Regions from separate parts of the Homo sapiens genome. Here regions 1, 2, 3, 4 and 5 are each linked to region 6. The links are contacts of gene promoters, found by promoter capture Hi-C in blood cells and fetal thymus (Javierre and others, 2016). All regions are on one chromosome and are shown on one strand. Each heading gives the region's core, a stretch centred on a gene start or on the middle of the fragment in contact. The rest is flanking DNA. Distances are from core to core; before and after follow the strand shown. Region 1 holds the start of IPO13 (importin 13). Region 2 holds the start of YBX1 (Y-box binding protein 1). Region 3 holds the start of DPH2 (diphthamide biosynthesis 2). Region 4 holds the start of ZNF691-DT (ZNF691 divergent transcript). Region 5 holds the start of PPIH (peptidylprolyl isomerase H). Region 6 holds the start of MED8 (mediator complex subunit 8).

Region 1 (4,037 bases), core at 1,503-4,002, 560 kb after region 6:
GTGCCGAGCCAGAACTGGCAGGAGTGGGGGCCTGAGTTGGAGGTGCCGGGGACAGGCGCTCGGGGCAGCCCGCGCCTTGCCGAGGTCCCTGCCCCGTCCCGGCCGGCCTGGCTTGTCTTGTCAGTCACTGGGGCGGAGGCAGCGGCTGTAGCGGGGCTGTAGCCGGGCGTTGAGCACAGCGCGGGCCAGGCCGAACGGAAGGGACCTGCCACAGCCCCTCAACTCCACGGACTCTTCGCCCTAGACTAGCGGAGCTGCATCTCCGCGCTTCGTTGGACGCCTCCGTAACCACGAAGGGCTCTCTCTCTCCCGTGACCCTCCAGCCCCATGACCTGTTCATAGCAGCCGAGAGCTCACCCAGGCGGGGGTGTTGTGGGTACAGGCCATCGACCCTGTGACCCCTCAAGAGCCAGGGACTCGGTTTCCCCCGCAGGCCTCCCTCCCCTGTGACTCCCTCCACACAGATTCTGGGGACAGAGCTGTTACCTGCCACTAGGATCCCCGCCTGAGAGCTCCTCACTGACGGCTCCCTCCTCGGAGTCCCCTTCATTGGGTCTCCTAAGAGCACCAATTTTGGTCTCTGGCAAGCCTCCCACCCCCAAACGAGGTGGGGAGGCCTCGGCAGCCATGCCCGCCCTGGGCCCCCCCTCACCCCACCACTCCCTGGGCACCCAAGCCGGGGTCTAGCAGGGGGCCAGCAGCCAAGGGGCTGGGGCAGGAGACAGATCAGGGCCCACCTCCCTGCCAGGGAGGGAGCAAAGATGGAGCGGCGGGAGGAGCAGCCGGGGGCTGCAGGGGCTGGAGCAGCACCAGCCTTGGACTTCACTGTGGAGAACGTGGAGAAGGTATGAGGGCTCTGGGGTGGGCACTCCAGTGACAGAGCAGAAGTTCTGGGGACTGTCACTGATGGCAGAGCTCAGGCCTGGGCTGGGTGCCCGCTGGTATGGTGCCCCCAGAGCACCTGGCATTTGCTCTCTTTCTGGGCAGGCAGTATTGCAGTGCCCTAATGGGCTATTTTTGTCTTTCCTTACAGGCAGGTCCCCTGTGGATAGATACTCTAGGGTCTTGGGATGGTCCCTTCAGGGTGCTGTGACTTAGCCTTCCGTCCAGACTGGCTATGTTCCAGCTCCATGGGAACTGCATGAGCAGTGCAGTAGGAAACTGGGAACCCAGGAGACCTGCAGCTCAGTCTCCTGGAATTATACTGATGCCAAACCATCCTGGACCTGGTTTTGTTGAGCCAAGGGCTCAGAAAATAATCTGGAACTAAAACAATCTGGGTTGTTTTGACTCTTTGGAGAAGGGTCCTTCCTTTATTGGATGGAAGCCAGACCAGTCCTGAGCAGGCAGGCCTGGGGCTGTCTCCCTTTGTTTTGTGCTGAGTCCAAGGGTCCTGGCCCTGCTGGGAGCCTTACAGGGCTCCTCCCTACTCGCCTGCCCACATAGCTCCCTGCCATGGCCCTCCCAGGCTCCCCGACTGCCCAGCCCATCTTTCTGAACTGCCTCTTTGGTTCTTTTCTGTATCTGCTCCCTACAACTTGAAATGCAGGAATGCATGCACCCTGGGATGAATGGGGAGATGGGGCTCCCTTACTTGAAAGCAGGGAATGATGTTCACTTGTTATCCTTAACCCCCGTTTGCCATAACAAACAATGAGGATGCATCTCTTCTGCCTGCTTTGGCGTCCCTGAGGGGCCAAACAAGGGCCAATGGCCATAACTGGCTGTCAGGGGTACAAATAGAGCTAAGCTTACTTGGATGGAGCCTGCTTAGGGGTCAGGGTCCTGGCCATACTCTTCCGCCCCTTGGAGCAGGGCAGTGTTGGCATGGTGGCGCACTGTTCCATGTGCTATTGGGAGATAAATCTCACTGTTTTCTTACTTCATAAAGTCCCGTTGGAATTGAGACCCCGGGGATTCTGCTAGTGGAGAGCACTAAGCTAGGTGTTTGCCAGGGCTGCAGCTATGGCCAAGGCTTCTCTGGATCAATTGGTTGGACATGTGCCCTCTGAGGAGTGTTCTCACCCTCTCCTCCAGCATGTCTGCCCCAGGGCTGCCTGGCAAAAGTCTTAGTCCTGCTCTGATTTCACACTGGCTTTGGTGCCAGCATCTGGACTGACCTAGGGATGATCCTGGGGGAGCTGAAAGGAGCTGTTGGAGTTGATGGGAGCAGCTGTGCCTGGGAGGGTCAAGTCCCCTCAAGCTGTTCCATGCCCTTCTCAGACTTAGCTTCATCCCTGTGAAGCTGTTCCTTCCACCTGGGCCTTGCCCTCAAGTGCCTCCCCTTTGGGGAGATCAGCCTCCTCTTTTTTGCTTTCCTGTGGAGATTCCCTCTCTGAACCCATAATGTTTTGCTGTAAGGAGAAGAGGATATGGTAGAGCATGGGCAAGGTTCAGGCTCTCAAGATATCAGCAGGACCCCAGGCCCAGGAAACACTGCAGAGCGCTGAGCTCTCCCTGCTCAGCCCCCCAGTCAGGGAGAGGGAGCAGCCTTGCAGGACCAAGTCACGCCTCTGTTCTGGGCTCTGGCAGGATCCAGAGTGGCCAGCACCTGCTCAGTCCTGTGCTGTCCTGCAGGCGCTGCACCAGCTCTACTATGATCCCAACATTGAGAATAAGAACCTGGCTCAGAAGTGGCTGATGCAGGCCCAGGTCTCCCCACAGGCCTGGCACTTCAGCTGGCAGCTACTGCAGCCCGACAAGGTACCAGAGATCCAGTACTTTGGGGCCAGTGCTCTTCACATCAAGATCTCTCGCTACTGGAGTGACATCCCCACTGACCAGTATGAAAGCCTAAAGGCACAGCTCTTCACCCAGATCACCCGCTTTGCCAGTGGCTCCAAGATTGTACTGACTCGGCTGTGCGTGGCACTGGCCTCACTGGCTCTCAGCATGATGCCTGACGCTTGGCCATGTGCTGTGGCAGATATGGTACGACTCTTCCAGGCTGAGGACTCACCAGTGGATGGGCAGGGCCGCTGCCTAGCCCTGTTAGAGCTGCTGACAGTGCTGCCTGAGGAGTTCCAGACCAGTCGCCTACCCCAGTACCGCAAAGGCCTGGTGCGGACCAGCCTGGCGGTGGAATGTGGGGCTGTCTTCCCGCTGCTGGAGCAGCTGCTACAGCAGCCCAGCTCACCCAGCTGTGTGCGTCAGAAGGTGCTCAAGTGTTTCTCCAGCTGGGTGCAGCTGGAGGTGCCGCTGCAGGACTGTGAGGCGCTCATTCAGGCTGCCTTTGCTGCTCTGCAGGACTCGGAGCTCTTCGACAGCAGTGTGGAGGCCATTGTGAATGCCATCTCACAGCCTGATGCCCAGAGGTGAGCTAGTACCCACTCACCCAGAAGACAACCTCTTTGGCCAGCCACACATCCATCCATCCATCTGTTCAATAAACATTAATTGAATGTGTACTGATACCTGGTCCTATGCTGGAGATACAGCAAGGAACCAAAGAAGACATGGTCCCTGTCCTCATGGTTCAGACAGGGAGGCAGACATTAAACAACTAATTATCAGTTATTCAATTAAAATATTTGACTCTCTTTTCCTTCTCTCAACTAGTCACCAAGTCCTGGCTGTTCCCCTCCTGACCATATTGCAAATCTATTTTTTTCCATTTCCATTGCTACCACCTTAGTCCAAGCTGTCATCATCTCTCTCCCCAGATTACTGTAGAGCTTGTCCTCACTCTTGTACCCTTCATTGTCCCAGCAGCCACAGTGATCTTTTGAAAATGGGGATCTAATCTTTCTGATCAGAAGCTTTCAGTGGCTTCTCAATGCTCTTAGGTTAAAGCTCAGAATCCTTAATGTGACTCATAATGGTGCTGCACAGTATGGCATCACTGGCCTCATCTCATGCTACTCTCCTTGCTCTCTACACGCTCACACAGTTTCTTTAATTCCTTGAATGTCCCATGTTCCTTTCAGCCTCTGGCTCATTACATATACTTGACACCTTGCCTCAGCTTAAACTTCATTTCCATAGGGAAGTCCTCCATGGATTCTTAAGGCTAAGTTTGATCTTCTCTCTTATATTAC
Region 2 (3,903 bases), core at 1,149-3,648, 710 kb before region 6:
GTCACAGTCTGGTGGGGAACATTTAATTAGAGCAATACAGTGTGTTAAGATGGGAGGGATTCTTAACCTAGTAGCATCTGAGCCAAGACCTAGAGGATGAAGAATTAAGCAGGCAAAGAGGAAGGAGGAAAGGAAGAGTGTTGTATGTAGAATTTTATGTAATACTCCAAACGTAACAGTGGCTAAAGGACTCCACTAGATGACAGTCCTTTCTCTACGATGTCCTCTGAAGCATGTTTACTTGGCTGGAGAGTTGCAAGTGTCTATTCTGTAGGGCCCTTGTAATATTTCACCATCTCCCTTGTCATCTGATACACTGAAGCAACACTTTTAACCAATTTCTATTTTCATAGAATTCAGCTGTTTGCTACCTCTGCTCCTGCAGTATCCTGCAGCCAGTAGTTACAAGCACCTGGAAGGTTGGACAGGGAATACAAGAGAAGACTCTAAGACTTCTCTTAGAAGTCATAGAGTCCAGTAAACCACATTATGGAATCTGGACTACCCTAAGGGTAATAGTAGTCACTGGAAGATTTTAAGTAAGACAGTGTCATGATCAGATAGATGTTCTCAAAAGAACTTTCTGGCTGTTGTGGTGGGTAATATTAGAGTAAGAAAGAGGTAGAGAGGTGTGGTTAGTAGCCAACAGCACTGCTCTATGCTAGGGGTCAGCCGACTACACTCCGTTTTTCTGTGGCTCATGAGCTAAGAATACAAATGGTTTTTAAAATGTTTAAATAGTTGAAAATATGTAAAGATTCGTGTCATGTAAAAATTAAGGCTGTTTTCAAGCTCCAAACCTGAGTAGTAAGTCAGAACCATATGGTCGGCCAAGCTTATATTATTAACTATTTGGCTCTCACAGAAAAAGGTTCCTACCCCTTGCTCTAAGCAATTGGTGATGATGGCCTACAGTAGTGACAGTAGGAATGAAAAGACTCTGAATTGACATTTAGAGGGTTTAGGACTGACTCAAGAACGCCTTTAGGAGGTGGAACTCACAGGCCTAGACGGCATTGGTAGGGGTAAGGAATACTGCATTAGCCTCCTAACTGCTTTCTCTACTTCCATTCCTTGCCCCTCTGCAACCCATTCTCCACTCCGCAGCCATTTTTAAAAAGATGCCCCTCCCTACTTATGACTCTAAAATTGCTCTTCTCACTCTTCCCCTCAGGATATATTTCCAATTAAATATACCTAAGTGACTGCCCACCTCTGCAACCCAATGTCACATTCGAGTCTTACTGAACTACTTGACTGCATTTCCCGAGATCTCACCTCTTCTCGCCTGTACCCTGTGCGCGGAAAGTCAGCCCTCCACCTTCTCCCTGCTTCCACTCCCAAAATACTTCGTGGTTTTGCAGCTCTGGAGTATTTACCGTGTTGGCTGTTTAAATTTCTGCCTCCATCAGAAGGCAGAAACTGACTCGCGAACTATTCCATCCCCAGCCGATAGTAGACGCTTAAAAAAGAACGAAAGAAGGTGGGTGGAGGACTTCAGTAACATCAGGTGGCAGCCTCAATTTTATCGTTTGTGAAACGTGGATAGTAATCCCTCTATCACGTGGCTGTTGCAGGAATAAAGTGAAAAAACAAAACAGGCTAGCTTGTTCAATAAATGTGAGTTGAATTAAATCTGATTTGTGGTCAGTAGAAAAAGATGTGAATACTTGGAAAGGAAGACACATTTTTTTAAATATATGCCTGGTAAAACGGATCAGAAGGCAGGTCCCCATGGAGCACACCCTCGCCCTAAACATGCTGAACCCGGGCTGCCATAGCCTGCGTGGTCCCTCCAAGGTGACTGCTCCGACAAAAGGGTACGCTCTTCAAACGCATACGTTTAAGGCAATTCCAGAAACCCTCGGCTGTGCCGCGACTACACGGCCATTAAAGAAAAGACGACTCTATGCCCGCCGTAATGTTCTCAGATCACAGGGACCGTATTTGGAGCTGGGAGGGAGGGAAGCCTTTTCTTCACGGGGGGCTAAGGCGTCTTCGAGCCCCCTTCCAATCCCGGGTCCGGCCGGGTAATCCCTGCCCAGCGTTCGGGCGTGCCTTTTTTTCAGCCGAGACACAACCCTGAACGTGGGGCCCGCCAGCCCGGCGGCTGCCTCGTGGAAGTCACGTTCCTTCTGCCCGTCCTCTCGGGTACTCTATGGTTTTCGTGGCCGACTACTCTAATTCTAGTTCCGGTCTCTATGGCGGCCGGCGGAGGCAGGAACGGTTGTAGGTCGACTGAATTAGCCGCCAAAGGTCCAATGAGAATGGAGGACTGATAAAATATTAGCCAATAGAAGCTAGGGATTGGGGTCAGGTGGGCAGATTGACAGTACCACTGGCCAGTGAACAACGCCTAGGGCGGGTCGCTCGTAGGGCTTATCCCGCCTGTCCCGCCATTCTCGCTAGTTCGATCGGTAGCGGGAGCGGAGAGCGGACCCCAGAGAGCCCTGAGCAGCCCCACCGCCGCCGCCGGCCTAGTTACCATCACACCCCGGGAGGAGCCGCAGCTGCCGCAGCCGGCCCCAGTCACCATCACCGCAACCATGAGCAGCGAGGCCGAGACCCAGCAGCCGCCCGCCGCCCCCCCCGCCGCCCCCGCCCTCAGCGCCGCCGACACCAAGCCCGGCACTACGGGCAGCGGCGCAGGGAGCGGTGGCCCGGGCGGCCTCACATCGGCGGCGCCTGCCGGCGGGGACAAGAAGGTCATCGGTGAGGACCGGACAGGGACGGGGGTGGGGCCCTCGGGCAGCCCAGCAGCGGAACCGTTAGCCGGAGCTGGGCGAGCCGGCGGGCGCGCGGCCGGTGGGCACCGACTCCGCGGCGCGCGGCCGCCCATCCCCCCCGTCCCCCCCTCACTCCCTCTCGCGGGGACCCGCCCGGCAGGCGCGCGCGCACTGCCTCCCGCGCCCCCTGTGGACCCCGCGCGGCCGCGCGCCCCTCCCCCTGCGGCCGCGCGCCGCCGACCGCGTGTGCGACGGGGTCCCCTCCCCGCCGACCGGCCTCGTGCGCTCGGGCCCGCACGCCGTTGTTCGCGTCACCCCCACCCAGCTCCCTTCCGCGTGTGCTCGGAGGGCGCGGCGCACCGCCTACGCAGGCCGGAGCGGCTTCCCCTTCCCTCACGTGCTCTCCGTCCGCGGCCTGCGCACACACCCATCCTGGGGCCCGCGCCCCGGGCCTGCCCTGGAGCGCCCCGCGCTTCAGACTCACCCACGTGTGCGGCGGCGGCGGCGACTGCGTGGCCCCGCACCCGGGCGGTGGAGAGAAAGGGCTGTCAGGTGGCCGCGGCGGCCGGCGTGCGAGGGACCGGATGCCCAAGCCGGGCGGATTTGGAAAAGGATAGCTGGTAATCGTGGCTTGTTTTGCTTTGTTTTCTTTTCCAGCAACGAAGGTTTTGGGAACAGTAAAATGGTTCAATGTAAGGAACGGATATGGTTTCATCAACAGGTGAGCTGCCGGGCTCTGAAGCCTCCATCCCACCTTCTTGCTTGCTTCCTGCTCTGTCGGCTTCTCGGGGCTTGGGAAGCCCCAATCCACAGCTCTGTTCTGAAAGGCGTTTACTACCTCTGGTGTATTAGTATGATTTTTTGTTGTTGTTGTTTTCCTTGATTAGGGATTAGTGGATCTAGAGAATGCCTTTGTTTTGCAGCTAAATATTAATTTGAAGCTAACTTAAAAGGCTTCGTCACAGTACAAAGCAATTCAAAAGGCAAGCGGAGTGAATGAGCCATTCCTTAACAGGGTAAACGGGAAACTACGGTCCAGTACATTTTTATCCTTGTCATCTTTTTCTACTTTATTGAACTCGGTATTTGAGAATGTGATCCACTGACATCGGATATTTATACATTGTTAACGTTTTAGGGTAAGAGGATTTGACTATATGAGGTTTTGTCATCTTTA
Region 3 (3,480 bases), core at 267-2,766, 580 kb after region 6:
CACAGGATGGTCAGGGATCAATCAGCACCAGGGACAGCTCCTGACCTATTCTTGCTTTTCTCCCTTAGCAGTGTTGCCTCCCTTTCTGTCTCCTCAGCTATAGTTTCACCTAGGCTGCCTCTCAGGTACCCCAGGCTTCTCCTCAGTAAGATCTGAAGAGCAGAATGAGTTCTCCCCACTTTTACCCTTGAGCTTTCAATCTCCTTGTGGGTGATGGGGAACTCGTTACTCCCACATTCATCCCACTCCTTCCCTGTTCAATAGATCCGGGTTTGATGCTGGTTGTGCCACAGAATTAGTGTCTTATTACACAAGTAGTCTCTTTGAACCTCAGTTTCCGTATCTGACAGAGGTATGTAAGGAGGGCATTTCAAGTGATGTTGCATGTGGGGGTGTTTGCATATAAGTAAACATGGGGAGTAGAGGGGATGTGAGGGGCTGGAGGGTAGAGGTCTATGTGGTATGCACTGGGGGTATTGCTGGGAAGCAGCAGTGTTTGAGGATGGCTGGAGCTGTGCAGAGCATCTCCTGTGACTTGAGGATGTGCCAGTCATGTCCTTGGTACCACTCGGGATAATTCTTACTCCAAAGACTGTAAACACTAAAAATGAAGTGCCTAATGTACAGTAAGTGCTCAGTATTTGGCTGATTAAATAGCAAATGCTTTCACTGCATGCGATATCCAAAGAACTACTTTGTAAAGTTTTGTATATAAATTAATTAGACCCTCACAACAATCTTATTAAGAGGTACTATTGTCACAACTCCCCATTCTTCAGATAAGGAAATGGGCATAGGGACATTCCTAAGATACTCAGTAGCAAGTGACCAAGCACAATATTCAAACCCGAGCCGGTCGGCACCAAGTTTAAAATTATGCAGTGTAGCCGGGCACGGTGGCTCACGTCTGTACTCTCAGCATTTTGGGAGGCCGAGATGAGTGGATTGCTTGAGTTCAGGAGTTTGTGACCAGTCTGAGCAACATGGCAAAAACCTGTCTCTACAAAAAATACAAAAATTAGCTGGATGTGGTGGTGCGCCTGTAGCCCCAACTACTCAAGAGGCAGAGGTGGGAGGATGGCTTCAGTCCAGGAGGTGAAGGTTGTGGAGATCGCGCCACTGCACTCCAGTCCAAGCAACATAGCGAGACCTTGTCAAAAAAAAAAAAAAATGAATGAATGAAAGAATTATGCAGTGATACTGCCCAGAGGATAGAGTGCACGTGAAATGCTTAACAGTGAAGTCGGTGTTCCTGATGGCCGCGGGTCGGCTGAACCGGACTCCCAGCGCCCGAGAGGAGGCCAGGGGAACTACAATGCCCACAAGGCTCCGCGCCTTCCTCGATGTACTTCCGGCTGGCCTGGGACTCAGGCTGAACATTGGTTCTCTGTGCGGGGCGGTGGCGGGGATTGGAGGGCGGGAGCTGTGCTGACTTAGGATTGGCAAAATCGCTATCAGCCACGCCTCTAAAACCCGGAAGTAACCTCCCCGGTAGTCCCACGTGTAGCGGAGAAACAGTAGTTAGGATGGCTGAAGGGGATACTCACCGGCTGAAGGCCGACTGTGATTCCCCCTACCCCCACAAGGCGATTTTGACCCCCTGAGGGCTGCTCTAGAGGACTCAGGCCCCGAAGCTGTCCCAGGGAGGTCCCCGCTGCATCCCACCACCCAAGCTGTGCCTCATGGAGTCGATGTTTAGCAGCCCTGCCGAGGCGGCGCTGCAGCGAGAGACCGGGGTGCCAGGACTGCTTACTCCTCTTCCGGACCTGGACGGAGTGTACGAGCTGGAGCGAGTCGCTGGATTTGTCCGCGACCTGGGGTGTGAACGAGTGAGGACAGACTTAGGGAAGGGTGGCTCGCCTCTGTCGGGATGGGTCGCCCAGAGGATCCGGATCTTGGGGGATTTTGTGAGGGCGAGAGGGTGGGGGAATCAGTCTGTCCGCAGCGCGTTGACCATCCCTCCCTTCCACCTACTACGTGGGGCAGAGTGCCCCTCTGGGACCAGGGGCTTTGAAGGTTGAGTGGGAGCTCCTGGAAGATTGCTTTAAAGAAGCCCTCAGTGGGAGAGAGGCTGTCCCTGACTCCATGGTTTATGCTTATAGGTTGCCTTGCAGTTCCCTGACCAGCTATTGGGAGATGCTGTGGCTGTGGCTGCACGACTGGAGGAGACGACAGGGTCAAAGATGTTCATTCTGGGTGACACAGCCTACGGCAGGTGTGAACTTGGCCTTAGGTGGGCCAGGCCTGGGGATCCGGGGCTCATGGGGTTTTACGTCTATGACAGTGATTGCCTTCAATGGTGGTGTTTCTCCTTGATGATAATGGTAATGACTCCCCTTCTGATGCTAGCTCCTTTCATTGACAATGTCTTCCTTTAATGAAACCATTTTATTCACTGACCACATTTCCCAGTGATGACAGCAACTCGCCTCCAGAAGAGAACCCATTTCTCTGATGCTATCTTCCCTGCAGCTGCTGCGTGGATGTGCTGGGTGCTGAGCAAGCTGGAGCTCAGGCTCTCATACATTTTGGCCCTGCCTGCTTAAGCCCTCCAGCCCGCCCACTGCCCGTTGCCTTCGTGCTTCGTCAACGTTCTGTGGCCTTGGAGCTCTGTGTCAAGGCCTTTGAGGCCCAGAACCCAGACCCCAAAGCGCCTGTGGTGCTGCTGAGTGAGCCGGCCTGTGCCCATGCCCTGGGTAAGGGGTTTTGCCTGTGTATGCACAAAGGGTGAGCCAACTGCTTTATGCCTTAATTTCCCCATTTCCATATACCATCCATAGAACTCTTGATATGGGCTTGGCCCCAGCCTACTGGGTCATATTTAGTCTCCTGGGGATGAGGGAGCTCCTGCTTTGCCAGGCTCCAACCTCAACACTACCTCCTTCTCTTCCAGAGGCTTTGGCTACTCTCCTGCGCCCACGGTACCTGGACCTGCTAGTCTCCAGCCCAGCTTTTCCCCAACCAGTGGGTTCCCTGAGTCCAGAGCCTATGCCCCTAGAGCGTTTTGGGCGCCGCTTCCCCCTTGCCCCAGGGAGGCGTCTAGAAGAGTATGGTGCCTTCTATGTAGGGGGCTCTAAGGCCAGCCCTGACCCAGACCTTGACCCAGACCTGAGTCGGCTGCTCTTGGGGTGGGCACCAGGTCAACCCTTCTCCTCCTGCTGTCCAGATACAGGGAAGACTCAGGATGAGGGTGCCCGGGCTGGACGGCTAAGGGCACGAAGACGATATCTGGTAGAGAGGGCCAGAGATGCCCGCGTGGTAGGGCTGCTGGCAGGCACACTGGGTGTAGCCCAACACCGTGAGGCACTGGCCCACTTGCGGAACCTGACTCAGGCTGCTGGCAAGCGTAGCTATGTGTTGGCCCTGGGGCGGCCCACCCCTGCCAAGCTTGCCAACTTCCCTGAGGTGGATGTCTTTGTGCTATTAGCCTGTCCTCTGGGTGCTCTAGCCCCCCAGCTTTCTGGTAGCTTCTTCCAGCCT
Region 4 (3,485 bases), core at 348-2,847, 540 kb before region 6:
AATGTCATTGAGAAACACCCTCACAGGAACACTCAGAATAATGTTTGACCAAATAGCTGGGCATCTTGTGACCCAGTTAAGTGGATACATAAGATTAACTATCACAGTGACTCAGTGGAATTTTTTGTTTGCTTTTGTACAGTTTTAAAATAAAAGTTTGGTATTTGTGTTTTGGTATGCTGTTATTTTCATTGTGAATGAGGAGTTGTGGGGAAGGTAAGAGATTGGTTTCCAAAGAGCTTTGAGTCCCCCAAGGCAAGGTTTAGCCACCGTTCATACTAAAGCCATAGTTTTATTCCTGAGTCTGCTCTCTAGTATTTTATTTTATCAATTTATAAACAAATAGTGTTCATAAGGCACACATATTTCACTCAACCATATTCAGTTCCAAACATGCATTCCTGAATATCCCAATCTTAAAACTAACTCACATTGTCAGCTTGTGGAGGCAGAATACATGCATACATATACACATACATACATGAATATACATATAATATACACACACATATGCATACATACACATATACACATGTATACATGTATGTGTATATACATATCTGTACTACATAGGTGTATATATATGTATATGTATTTAGCATGTATGCACGTGTATATGTATACACATATATACATATGTATGTATAATACATATTCACACATGTATGCATGTATATACACATGTATACATTAGTATATGTATATACACATGTATGTGTATTATACATGTATATATGTACATACATATCAGTCTACTGATTTGAATATTAATGTCATCAAGAAATAACCTCAATATATGTATGTATTATAACCTTACAACTATATAAAACATACATACATATATATGTATATATGTATACACATACACATGCATGAGAATATATGTATGTATATATAATATCCTCACAGTAATTCTGCCAGGGATTTTATGGGGGAGGGAGTTGGTACTCCAAATGGCTAGGTGGTAGAGCCAGAGTTTTATACTTGGTTTATCTAGCTCTGAAGGCAATGCTCCTTGTTCTTTGCACTGAAACATTGTGCAGATACGAGAAGCCTGTAGTTTACGTATTTCATTAGCCTTTTATTATTTTAAAAAATAAAACCTGAAAAAAAAGACCTAGTCCTGGATACTTTGGTGATCTTGTTGTGTCTGGATTGACGAACACGTGTCAGGCTTAATTAGGGATGCACGCGGAACCCGGGAAAATCCCTGCTCAGGGGGGCTGGAAGACCTGGAGGTTGATCCTTGAACAGGGTACTTTTAGCTTCTCCGATAAGGAGATTGGGTTATTTTATCTTTAAACTCCCTTCCAGCTCTACCCTCCTTTGATTTTAAGTTATAAACCTTGAGTGAGGTGCCAGACTCTAGGCTTCGTTGGACGTCTACAGGACGGTCAAGGATTACCAACTCAAAGTAAAGAAGGAAATTTGAGTACTTGCCCCCTTGGAGGTTGTGTAGGTTGGCTATACAGATTCTACAACTTCCCAGACGAGTGGCCCTGAGACTTGGGGCTGAACGCGCGAGCACGGAAAGAAATCCCACCGTAGGACGGAACCCAGTCTCTTCAGCTCCATCCTAAACTTCGCAAGTTTTCTCTGAGTCTACGCGCTTCCTTAGGACTACAACTCCCAGCATGCCACGCCAGCGGTCAAAGCTTATTGGTGGTCCTGCCAGGTCGCTTGCGTTGTGGCAGTCATGGTAGCCAATGGAAATAAAGAATTATCCCAAGAAACCAATCCTGGAGTAGTAGGGCGGATCCTTCCTGGGTTCCGGCTCCGGCTCCAGCTCCTTCCCTCGCCTACAGAGGCGGCGCTGTCCCTGATCGAGCGGCGGGAGCGAGGTGGGTCCGGGTTGGGCCCGAGGTCGCGGGGGGAGGCGGACACGACTTCGCGGGAAACTCTGTACACGGCCACTTCCCTCTCACCGAGGATCTGGATGCTGCTGCTTTGCTCCCTGGACCGAGTGGGAAGCCAAGGGGCCTTGTGGTCCCTCCGCCGCGACCCTCGCCCTGGCCCCCGGCCCACGCAGCCAGGTGGCTGTCCCCAACCCATTCCCCGGCCCTTCTGTTGGGTTTGAGTATACAGCCTTCCTGCCGCTGACCATACGTTTAGGATCAGCCCCTCCTCCTCTCCCACCTCTCTGGCCCCAAGCCCGCCGGCAATCTCTGAAACCAGCTCTTGTACCCTTGGACCTCCGCCATTGGCTTCTCCCCGCCCCGCAACACACAACTCAGCTCTTGGGCCCTGGCCTGTGACACTTCTGGCAGCCTTTGCTTCCTCTTCCCTGACCGTCTCCTGCGACCCTCTGACTTCCTTGGTCCTCCTGTATCTCTGACCCGTTATCTAGCTTCCCTGTACAATTACCCTGTTAGCACCTTGCTCTTGGTCTTTCATAGCTCCTCTCTCCTCTTCCTCCCTGCAGCCCTTGACTTGGCCCCAAAGACCTGTAACTTCGGACCTCCATACCGCACTATGGCTTGGCCCCTTGCCTTTAACCTAGGCGCTTCACCTTCATCATCTGTGATCACTAGCCCCATCTTCTTGGCTCTTAACTTCTTAGACCTGGCCCCTCCTCCACTTCTCAGCCCCTTCCACCGTTGCTTCTCTCTGTGCAGCTGAGCCACCAGGAAGACAAAGCCCAATAGACCCCTTTTCCCCCCAGATCTCTGCAGTGTGATATGAAAGTGCCTCTGTACTTCAGCTGCACTGTCTTCTCAGTAGGTAGTTGCCTCTTTATCTCTGCAAGTCCCAGTCTTACCCATCCTGCAAACCTTAGGTCAAATACCTACTCCTCCTTGAAACTTCTCAGCCCTGATTTCATCAGGGAGATACATCTGTATCATGTGAACTTCAGTGGTACTGTTTTTATTTCCTTCCTTCCCGTCTTCTCTCCTTTTTTCCTTCAGTAATAGTATAATGGTTAAAAGCACTGACTTTGAAGTGATGGGCATAGGCCCCAGTTCTGCCACTTACTTGCTGTGTGCCCTTGGGCAAGATACTTAATTTCTCTGAGCCTCAGCTTTCTCATCTCTAAAATAAGGATGATGTGAAGTGAAATTAGATGATTCATATATGGTCCTTAGTCCACAGCTTAGCACTTGATTCGAGCTTTAAAAAAATGTTAATAATGTGCCAGGTGCTGTGTTAGACACTGAGGAGTGGGTACAAAGGTGACTAAGGCACAGTTCCTGCCCCTGTCCCCTGAACTTAACCTTCTGCATTGTATGACAATTTCTGGAGTTCACGGTCTGTTTCAGTACACTGTATCACAAACTGAGTGGTAATCATAATCCTAAATCCTTTTGCTCTTACATTGACCTAGCATCCAGCCCCGGGTAGAGCTGGAACTTGGTAAATTATAGGTTCTCAGAATAGCAGTTTCGGAAGTGAGTGGAGGCTGAATAGCTCATTGCGTAGAGATACTGTAGCTGTAGGTCAGATGGGAGCAGGGCAGGGGGTGGGGGATGGGATGGTGGCGTGAATTA
Region 5 (3,841 bases), core at 1,136-3,635, 730 kb before region 6:
TACTTTTTGTAAAGACGAGGTCTCACTCTCACTCTATTGTTCAAGCTGGTCTCAAATTTCTGGGCTCAAGTGATCCTCCCACCTAAGCCTCCTAGGTGATAGGATTATAGGATGAGCCTCTATGCCAGGCCTGGTTTTACTTTGTTACTATTTAAGATTATGCTGTGTTGAAGGTCTTTGTGCATGTAGTTCTTTTCTTCTTTTGAATTACTCCAGAAAACAAATTCGCAAGATTGGACTGAGTCAAAGGATATAAATGTTAATATTGCTCTAGGACATCACTTCCTTTGCTTTAAAAAAGGGTTCTGCCTGACCAGGTGCGGTGGCTCACGCCTATAATCCCAGCATTTTGGGAGGCCGAGGCAGGTGGATCACTTGAGGCCAGGAGTTCAAGACCAGCCAGGCCAACATGGCAAAGCCCTGTCTCTACTAAAAATACAAAAATTAGCCGGGTATGGTGGTGCACACCTGTAGTCCCTGCTATGCGGGAGGCTGAGGCTCGAGAATCACCTGAACCCAAGAGGTAGAAGTTTCAGTGAGCTGAGACCACTCCACTGTACTCCAGCCTGGGCAAAAAGTGAGACTCTGTCTCAAAAAATAATAATAATAAATACATAAATAATAAAATAAATAAAAAGTGTGTCAACATACTGTTTTCATAGTCAAGTTACTCAACCTCCTTGAGCCTCAATTTCTTGATTCCTAAAATGGGAACAATAATAGTTCTCTATCCCATAGGGTTGTGAGGACCAAATGAAATGAAGCATGTAAAGTATTTAGCACGTAGTAACTGCTTAATAAATGCTATCATCATTTATTTTCACTAGAGGTTTATCAATGTACTATTTTTTTCACAACCTCATCAACATTGGATATTATCAATTTTAAAGATTTATTCTAAAACAGTTGGTATAAAATTATACTGAAGCGTGACTGCTGCTGTTCCTTTTCCCCCTCCTCCCCTTTCTTCTTTTTCAGTTGGAGGAGACCAAGAGGAGAGGATCAGTAACCAGAAATAAAAATGACCCTTTACATTGAGACACACTGTATTTTTATATGTAATCCTTGCTTTCTCAGACAACAGAGCTAGAAAGATGATCATAGGAACTAGGAAATAATAACTATTTTATTAAATGCATGCTGTTATATTGAATGAGCCTTGCCCAAGGTCCCCTTCTTTCACTAAATTCATTGCATCTATTATTTATTGAATACCTACTATATGCTATTCAGTAGGCGACATTGCAGCTACAGCTGCGAATAGGACCAGGAGAGTCTCTACTTTCATGGAGTTTATATGCTATCAGGGAGGAAGATTATGTGTGTGTGGCAGGAAATGAGGTGTAGACACATACCATACGAAGATAATGTGGAAGTGGGGGTGGCATGAAGAAAACAAACCAGTGATCTGAATGACCAAGGGCTACTTTAGATTAGGTCTAATGTTGCCTCTCAGGAGGTAACATCTGGGGTGAGCCCTGAACTACAAGGAGCATTACTTCCCACACGCATACCCCAACCAACCCCCACAATCCCCCGCCAACCCACATTAAGTTCTGGAAGGAATATTTCAGACAGAAGTAACAGCTATTACAAAGCCCTAAAGAGAGGAGGGATCTCAGTGACCTGGAGGAACAGACAGGTCAGAGCACAGTAACTAAGGGCAAGTGGTACAAGATGAGGTCAGGTACGTGATAGCCAGATAAATGCACTGTAGGGCTTCGTATGCACGGAATTGGATTTTATTCTAAATATGGGAAGCCAGGAGTTATTTTTAAAATAAATAGGAAGCACAAGAGTTATTTTAAAAATAAAAAATAAAAAACTCTAGTTGCTTTATGGGAAATGAATTGGAAATGACAAAACTGGTAGCTTTTGTGGCAGAACAAACATTATCTATTGTCCTGACTTAGAGGAAGGGATATTTACTTAGCAAGCCTGTACGTGCCAAGCTGTTCTAAACGCTGAGGATGAACAAACCAGAGTTCCTGCCTTCACGGTGTTCACACTAGCGGGCAGAAGACAGACAGCACGTGTGGCGGTGCAGAGGGCTTGGCTGCAAGAGCCGATAAGGAGGACCCTGGCGACTGCCTAGTCCAAAAGTCCTAGCTAGAGCAAGATCAACTTGTACTGCCCTTAGTACAGCCACGTGAGTGGGGTGACCATTGACCTTAACCAAAAAGATGTCAAGGCTTTCCTCCTCCTCACTCCCGCGTCCCCAGTGCCAGGCAGAGTCTCTCAGCTAGACCCTAGCAGTCTCAGCACACACCGCACGGGGCGACAGCTTCCGGGGGCGGAGCCTGGTCTCGCTCCACGTCTACCGCGCCTGCTCCCCGGACGAAATCCGCGGACCGGGCTTTAGGTTCGCCGGAATCCCACGCTCCCGACTTCTGCTTCCGGGTCGGAGCCATGGCGGTGGCAAATTCAAGTCCTGTTAACCCCGTGGTGTTCTTTGATGTCAGTATTGGCGGTCAGGTGAGATCCAGGAGGCTGCCCACACCTGCGCCGAAGGGAAACTGCTCGGGGCTAGGCAGGCAGAACTCACCCAGAGAGAGCGGACTCGGGAAGCCAGCCAGAAAGTGAAATTGCACCCGAACCTACCGACCTGCCGGGCGGGGGGAAAGGAGGAGGAGGAGTCTCCCCAATCCTAGCGCCCCGCTTCTGGAGGAACTGGGCGGTTAGACTAGGGAGGCGGAGGTGGGAGATACCGAGCGGCAGGGTGGTGGGTCAGCCCATCATGCCCCCTGCTCCGTGAAGCCCTCATGGTCTTGGACTGGGCCTTCTGACACTCTCCCGCTGATTGCAGGAAGTTGGCCGCATGAAGATCGAGCTCTTTGCAGACGTTGTGCCTAAGACGGCCGAGAACTTTAGGTAAGGACGTGCTCCAGCTCCGCTGGATTAGCTGAGGCAGAAGTCGGGCTCCAGTCAGCCGCCTGAAATAGCCTGTCTACCTCTGTCCGTCCGCTCACTGCTCTTGAGACCTGATTCCTCCATGCATTGCTCTGTCTGGTTGCCGTTTGGATTGTTCCCGTGTTAATTTACGTTGTTAGTCTGTGTGACTGCGTGTCTGGACGTCTGGCTGGCCGATTGGTGGACTTGCTGGCTCCAGTGTTTATTCTTTCCCGTATTTAGAGGCGCTCACGACTGTGACATCATAGTGATTGAATCATTCATTTTTTGTCCCTTTCAGGCAGTTCTGCACCGGAGAATTCAGGTCAGTTTCAGATGTGTTTGACTTCTTTGCCTGCTCCAGAGGGGTGTTCTGGGGCTGCAGTGAGGGTATCGGTGAACCACCTGCTGGCCTTGAATGATTGCTGGTGACAGTGATAGAAGGTAATGCCCCAAGGGTCTGTCCCTAGTTTATTTGCCTTCTTTATGTCTGTCAACCATCTTTAGGAGAGTCCTTTTGGCTCCAGTGCATGGTAAACTGGAAAGGCCTTGTGCTACCTGCTGTCACTCCAAGTCTCTTTCTTTTCGGTTATAGGAAAGATGGGGTTCCAATAGGATACAAAGGAAGCACCTTCCACAGGTAAGGCTCTTGGCAAGCCATCCTGGAGTCTTTCAGAAATATTTCCTGGGGGATTAGGCTCTTTAGAGGAAAATAAAACCAGAGGGTAATTCTTACATTTCTTGAGAAGAAATGTTTTTGTGGACTCAACAACTGAAGATTTATTAAATGTTCTAACTCTACTTACACTCCCCCACTTCTTAGGTCTTTAAAACAGAAACTACTCATCTTTACAATATCTTGTCTTTTTCATGCACTTGTTTGTGCGAATGCAGATTTTTTAAAAAGTACACTTGTAATCCTAAAGTGCATATAATATATCCTGCTGGTTGA
Region 6 (3,717 bases), core at 292-2,791:
CTAGGCCCCCCCACCCATAAGCCCTTCCTAGCTTGCCCTGGTAACTCTTACCAGGTCAGCCGGCCATACTCGTTCTCCAACTTGCAAATGAAACTCCCCAGAGAGTTCTTCAGATCAGCCACTTGACTCAGCAGTGCATCTAATGATGCCTCAAGCTGCTTCTCCTCTCTCTGCACCAATAGGAACAGGTTGGTCACCCAGATAAACGAGTATGACACATAGAAAGGAGGGCTGGAAAGCCAAGGAGATGGTGTGCAACACCAGTCAGGTAACACAGGATCTCATTGGCATAGGATAGCCAGGTTGTTTTCTATCTTTGGTATTTGGGTTATAGACAGCATCAACCCTGAGACCTTCCAACCTGTTTGCCTGACCCCAAGTCCTTCCACCAACTGATTCCTTTTCCCCATCACCTCCTAATCTATGCCTGGTTTTTCTCTGTGTTAGGTACACCCTACACTCCCTCACTGAGACATTTTCGACAGACCTAATGCCAGGAGATCATTCTCTCATGTGCACCTCTGTAGCACATGCACTCCAGCTTCCTCCATCCTAGCATCTGTGAGCCTGGCTGTCTTGTCAGTCTCTGGGAAATCTGCCTACTCATGAAGACTTCTCTGAACACCAGTCCTGCTCTCCCCTTTCCCTCCCCCAACCAACGACTCCAGCTTTCCATCTGCTCTCATCATTTTGTTTCAACCTTCTCCTTGCTGAATTAATATGCAATCATCTATCTCTGTGTCAATATTCCCGTGCCTCTTTCACAAGCTCAGTCAACCCATTAACATTTATTGAGACTACCAGCTGCAAGAAACTAAGTGACAAATGAAAAACAAAAACCACACATGCTTCTAAGCACTGGACAAACAAATTAAAATGCTGGGGGTCTGCAAAGCATTTCCTTCCCATCGGTGGTCTCCTGTTTTACTCCATTTCTTCACCCTTAACAACTATAGGGCACAGGCTGGGAAGAGGGATGCAAAACTGTCTTGCAAACCTGCCTGACAGAAACTTGATCCCGGGTTCCACCATGGCCTCTGATTATAAGCTGCTTAGCTTTCAGCCATCGCGGCCCACAATTCCCTCACTGCTTGGGCTTCTTTCCAATTAGATCCCCTGCTATATCGGCAACCAACAGCCTCCATCCAGCAGCTTAGGACAGGGCCTGAGCCAACCCACCACCTTCTTGAGCCGTCTTCCTTGGACTGCATCTCAGCCTCCCCGTATTACAACCTAATCCTTTCCCACGCCAAGCAAACAGGTGCTGCCTCCTCCCTCCGGATTTAGCCCGACTGTCTCCTGTCAGGCAAGCTCCACCCCCACCTCTAATCGCCGCCGCTCCCGCTCCAATTAGCCTCGCCCCCCAGCCCACATTCCCTTATCAGCCGTGGGTTCTGCCCTCTCTTCTCAGTCCCAACTCTTCATTCTCCTTAGCCAGCCCACTCTCGGTCCCTGTACCCGAAGCTTGCCAGCCGCTAGTACGCCCAACGCAACTCTCACCTGCATTGCGGCGGCCGAGGCGGCTGCCACGATTTCACTTCCGGTTTTCCAGTCAGCAAACGCCTACGAGAAGGCTTCGTCCACCAATCAGAAAACTGGAACTCGGCCCTCCCACCAACTTCCGGTTCCTGCTGGGTGCCGAGGTAGCGAGGTCAGGGGTCAAGAGTGGAACACCCTCACTGGCCCGGGCCGGCGCGGGAGGGCTGTGTGATGGCCTCGGAGCGCCCGGAGCCGGAGGTGAGGGGCGGGCGGGCGCAGCACTGGGCCCCGAGATCCGAGGGGGAGGGTCCGGCGGGCAGGCGTGGCGTTGGCCTCCTCTAGGTCTGGGGGTGGCCGGGCTGCGTAGCCTCGGCAGGGACCAGCCCAGCCCGGAAGGCCCGACTATGGTACCCCTGCGGACTGTGTATGGGACGCGGTCCGCAGTTTCCTCGGGGAGCTAAAGGAGTAACTGTTCGCTTTGTTTTGTTTACTGACATGTCACCCGCGTCGTCGTCTCTAAGACTTATAGCGGTGTTAACAAAACTTGTATTTTGACTTTCTGTTGCAGTTTCAATGGGCAACACGGCAGTAGATTTACTTTGCTGGTTTTTGCATTTCTTTAGGCATTGGAATACCATAAACAGCATGAATTTATTTAGTTCTAGGGCTCATGCTTTTAGAAAAGCAGCTTTAATTTCATGAAAAAAACATTTGAGTCGGACTGAGACCTCGTTCCAATATTGGCGCTGTCATGTAGCTAATCTGTGCAACCTCAGGCGAGTCTTCCCGGATCCTGTTTCCTTCTTTATAAAATATCTGTCTTATAGTGTGTTGTGAGAATCACATGTAATAAACCAGAAAGGTGATATGATATATTCGTTAAATGCTAAGGAACATGCAAGGAACCTTATATATGTTGTGTCATTCAGACTTGTGCAAGGAAGGTGGCATTCTCACAGAGGAGAAAACTGAAAAATGAGAAAGATTTAGTACCTTACTCAAATGCCACTCATCCAGGAACTAGCAGTTTGGAGTTAGAAGATCTGAGCTTAAAATCTCAGATTCGGATAAAACACCACCACCAGGAAAGGTGCCAACATATCAGTAGGTGGGAAGGGTGAGAGATGTGTATAATGATAGAAATAGTATTCATTACTGCATACATACTGCATGCTCAGTACCATTCTAAGCTCTTTACCAATATCAGTTAATCCTCAGCCCTATGAAGTGGACACTGTATCATCTCCTTTTTTTAGTTTAGGAACTGAGGCACAGAGATATTAAGAGTAACAAAGTAAGCCGGGCGCAGTGGCTTACACCTGTAATCCCAACACTGGGAGGCCGAGGTGGGCAGATCACCTGAGGTGAGGAGTTCGAGACCAGCCTGACCAACATGGAGAAAGCCTGTCTGTACTGAAAATGCAAAATTAGCCAAGCATGGTGGCGCAGGCCTGTAATCTCAGCTACTCGGGAGGCTGAGGCAGGAGAATCGCTTGAACCCGGGAGGTGGAGGTTGCGATGAGCTGAGATCATGCCATTGCACTTCAGCCTGGGCAACAAGAGTGAAACTCCGTCTCAAAAAAAAAAAAAAGTAACAAAGTTACACAGCTATTAAGTATTAGAGTCAGGACTCCAAAACAGATGGCCAGGCTCCAGTCCTTGTGTTCTTAACCATATTGTTCATGGTATAAGTAATAAAGTAGCCACAGAATGGTAAATCTCCAGTTCACTGGGATTTGGTGTGGTAAGACCCAACATTGAATATGGTGGTAGGAAACTATGCCTTATTTAAAATAGTCATGTTCACAGAGGTGGTAGAATAGCTCATGCATCAGAAATATCAATCAAGATCAATCAGAAATATTAACACAAGAAAAACTATGAAACAGTTTAGAGGATGTTTCATTATAGATTAAAGTGAAAGGAGGTGGAGGGATGTTGTGGGGAAATGCAACATACCTTTTAGGCAGATAGTCTAGGACAACACCGTCCTGTAGAAATCTAAAGCAAGCCACATGTGTAATATTAAATTTTCTGATAGCCACATAAAAAAATGAAACAAGGCCGGGCGCGGTGGCTCACGCCTGTAATCCCAGCACTTTGGGAGGCCGAGGCGGGCGGATCACGAGGTCAGGAGATCGAGACCATCCTGGCTAAAACGGTGAAACCCTGTCTCTACTAAAAAAAATACAAAAAATTAGCTGGGCGTGGTGGCGGGCGCCTGTAGTCCCAGCTACT

Evidence for each region. The method cuts DNA at HindIII sites, captures the fragments that hold promoters and counts their contacts. A CHiCAGO score of 5 or more calls a contact.
Region 1: a fragment that was not itself captured here is called in contact with the fragment with the promoter of MED8 in region 6 in 1 of 17 cell types (fetal thymus); the score reaches 5.3 in fetal thymus.
Region 2: the fragment with the promoter of YBX1 here is called in contact with the fragment with the promoter of MED8 in region 6 in 10 of 17 cell types (fetal thymus, naive CD8 T cells, monocytes and 7 more); the score reaches 12.1 in fetal thymus.
Region 3: the fragment with the promoter of DPH2 here is called in contact with the fragment with the promoter of MED8 in region 6 in 2 of 17 cell types (neutrophils and erythroblasts); the score reaches 5.2 in neutrophils.
Region 4: the fragment with the promoter of ZNF691-DT here is called in contact with the fragment with the promoter of MED8 in region 6 in 12 of 17 cell types (fetal thymus, total B cells, total CD8 T cells and 9 more); the score reaches 12.2 in fetal thymus.
Region 5: the fragment with the promoter of PPIH here is called in contact with the fragment with the promoter of MED8 in region 6 in 5 of 17 cell types (neutrophils, non-activated CD4 T cells, fetal thymus and 2 more); the score reaches 8.1 in neutrophils.

Annotation. Positions count from the first base shown.
Region 1 is chr1:43,946,840-43,950,876 of GRCh38, forward strand. IPO13 (importin 13) reads left to right here and starts at 111. Exons shown (of 20, transcript NM_014652.4): 1 at 111-845; 2 at 2,578-3,314. The coding sequence starts at 762. RefSeq lists a silencer at 1-156. The HindIII fragment of the contact is 2,008 bases long and covers 1,749-3,756 here.
Region 2 is chr1:42,680,020-42,683,922 of GRCh38, forward strand. It overlaps YBX1 (Y-box binding protein 1), which reads left to right and starts at 2,399. Exons shown (of 8, transcript NM_004559.5): 1 at 2,399-2,712; 2 at 3,384-3,447. The coding sequence starts at 2,547. It also overlaps a transcript of PPIH not described here. RefSeq lists an enhancer at 2,055-2,104 and silencers at 2,545-2,744, 2,935-3,044, 3,155-3,304. The HindIII fragment of the contact is 3,657 bases long and covers 834-3,903 here.
Region 3 is chr1:43,968,494-43,971,973 of GRCh38, forward strand. DPH2 (diphthamide biosynthesis 2) reads left to right here and starts at 1,517. Exons shown (of 6, transcript NM_001384.5): 1 at 1,517-1,829; 2 at 2,103-2,215; 3 at 2,473-2,696; 4 at 2,894-3,480. The coding sequence starts at 1,683. RefSeq lists enhancers at 1,548-1,827, 2,313-2,859, 2,860-3,404, 3,190-3,480. The HindIII fragment of the contact is 12,483 bases long and covers 1-3,385 here.
Region 4 is chr1:42,844,817-42,848,301 of GRCh38, forward strand. ZNF691-DT (ZNF691 divergent transcript) reads right to left here and starts at 1,598. Exons shown (of 5, transcript NR_186083.1): 1 at 1,441-1,598. It overlaps ZNF691 (zinc finger protein 691), which reads left to right and starts at 1,797. Exons shown (of 4, transcript NM_001242739.2): 1 at 1,797-1,841. ERMAP (erythroblast membrane associated protein (Scianna blood group)) reads left to right here. Exons shown (of 12, transcript NM_001017922.2): 12 at 1-175. RefSeq lists enhancers at 1,334-1,603, 1,764-1,833. The HindIII fragment of the contact is 2,341 bases long and covers 1-1,653 here.
Region 5 is chr1:42,656,038-42,659,878 of GRCh38, forward strand. PPIH (peptidylprolyl isomerase H) reads left to right here and starts at 2,386. Exons shown (of 10, transcript NM_006347.4): 1 at 2,386-2,475; 2 at 2,807-2,871; 3 at 3,191-3,214; 4 at 3,485-3,529. The coding sequence starts at 2,410. It overlaps CCDC30 (coiled-coil domain containing 30), which reads left to right. Exons shown (of 21, transcript NM_001395517.1): 21 at 1-1,153. All of the region lies in intron 1 of LOC124904162 (a long non-coding RNA gene), which reads right to left. The HindIII fragment of the contact is 5,565 bases long and covers 1-3,841 here.
Region 6 is chr1:43,388,259-43,391,975 of GRCh38, forward strand. MED8 (mediator complex subunit 8) reads right to left here and starts at 1,542. Exons shown (of 7, transcript NM_201542.5): 1 at 1,501-1,542; 2 at 52-170. The coding sequence starts at 1,506. SZT2 (SZT2 subunit of KICSTOR complex) reads left to right here and starts at 1,641. Exons shown (of 72, transcript NM_001365999.1): 1 at 1,641-1,737. The coding sequence starts at 1,711. RefSeq lists an enhancer at 52-191 and a silencer at 1,632-1,961. The HindIII fragment of the contact is 2,691 bases long and covers 1,463-3,717 here.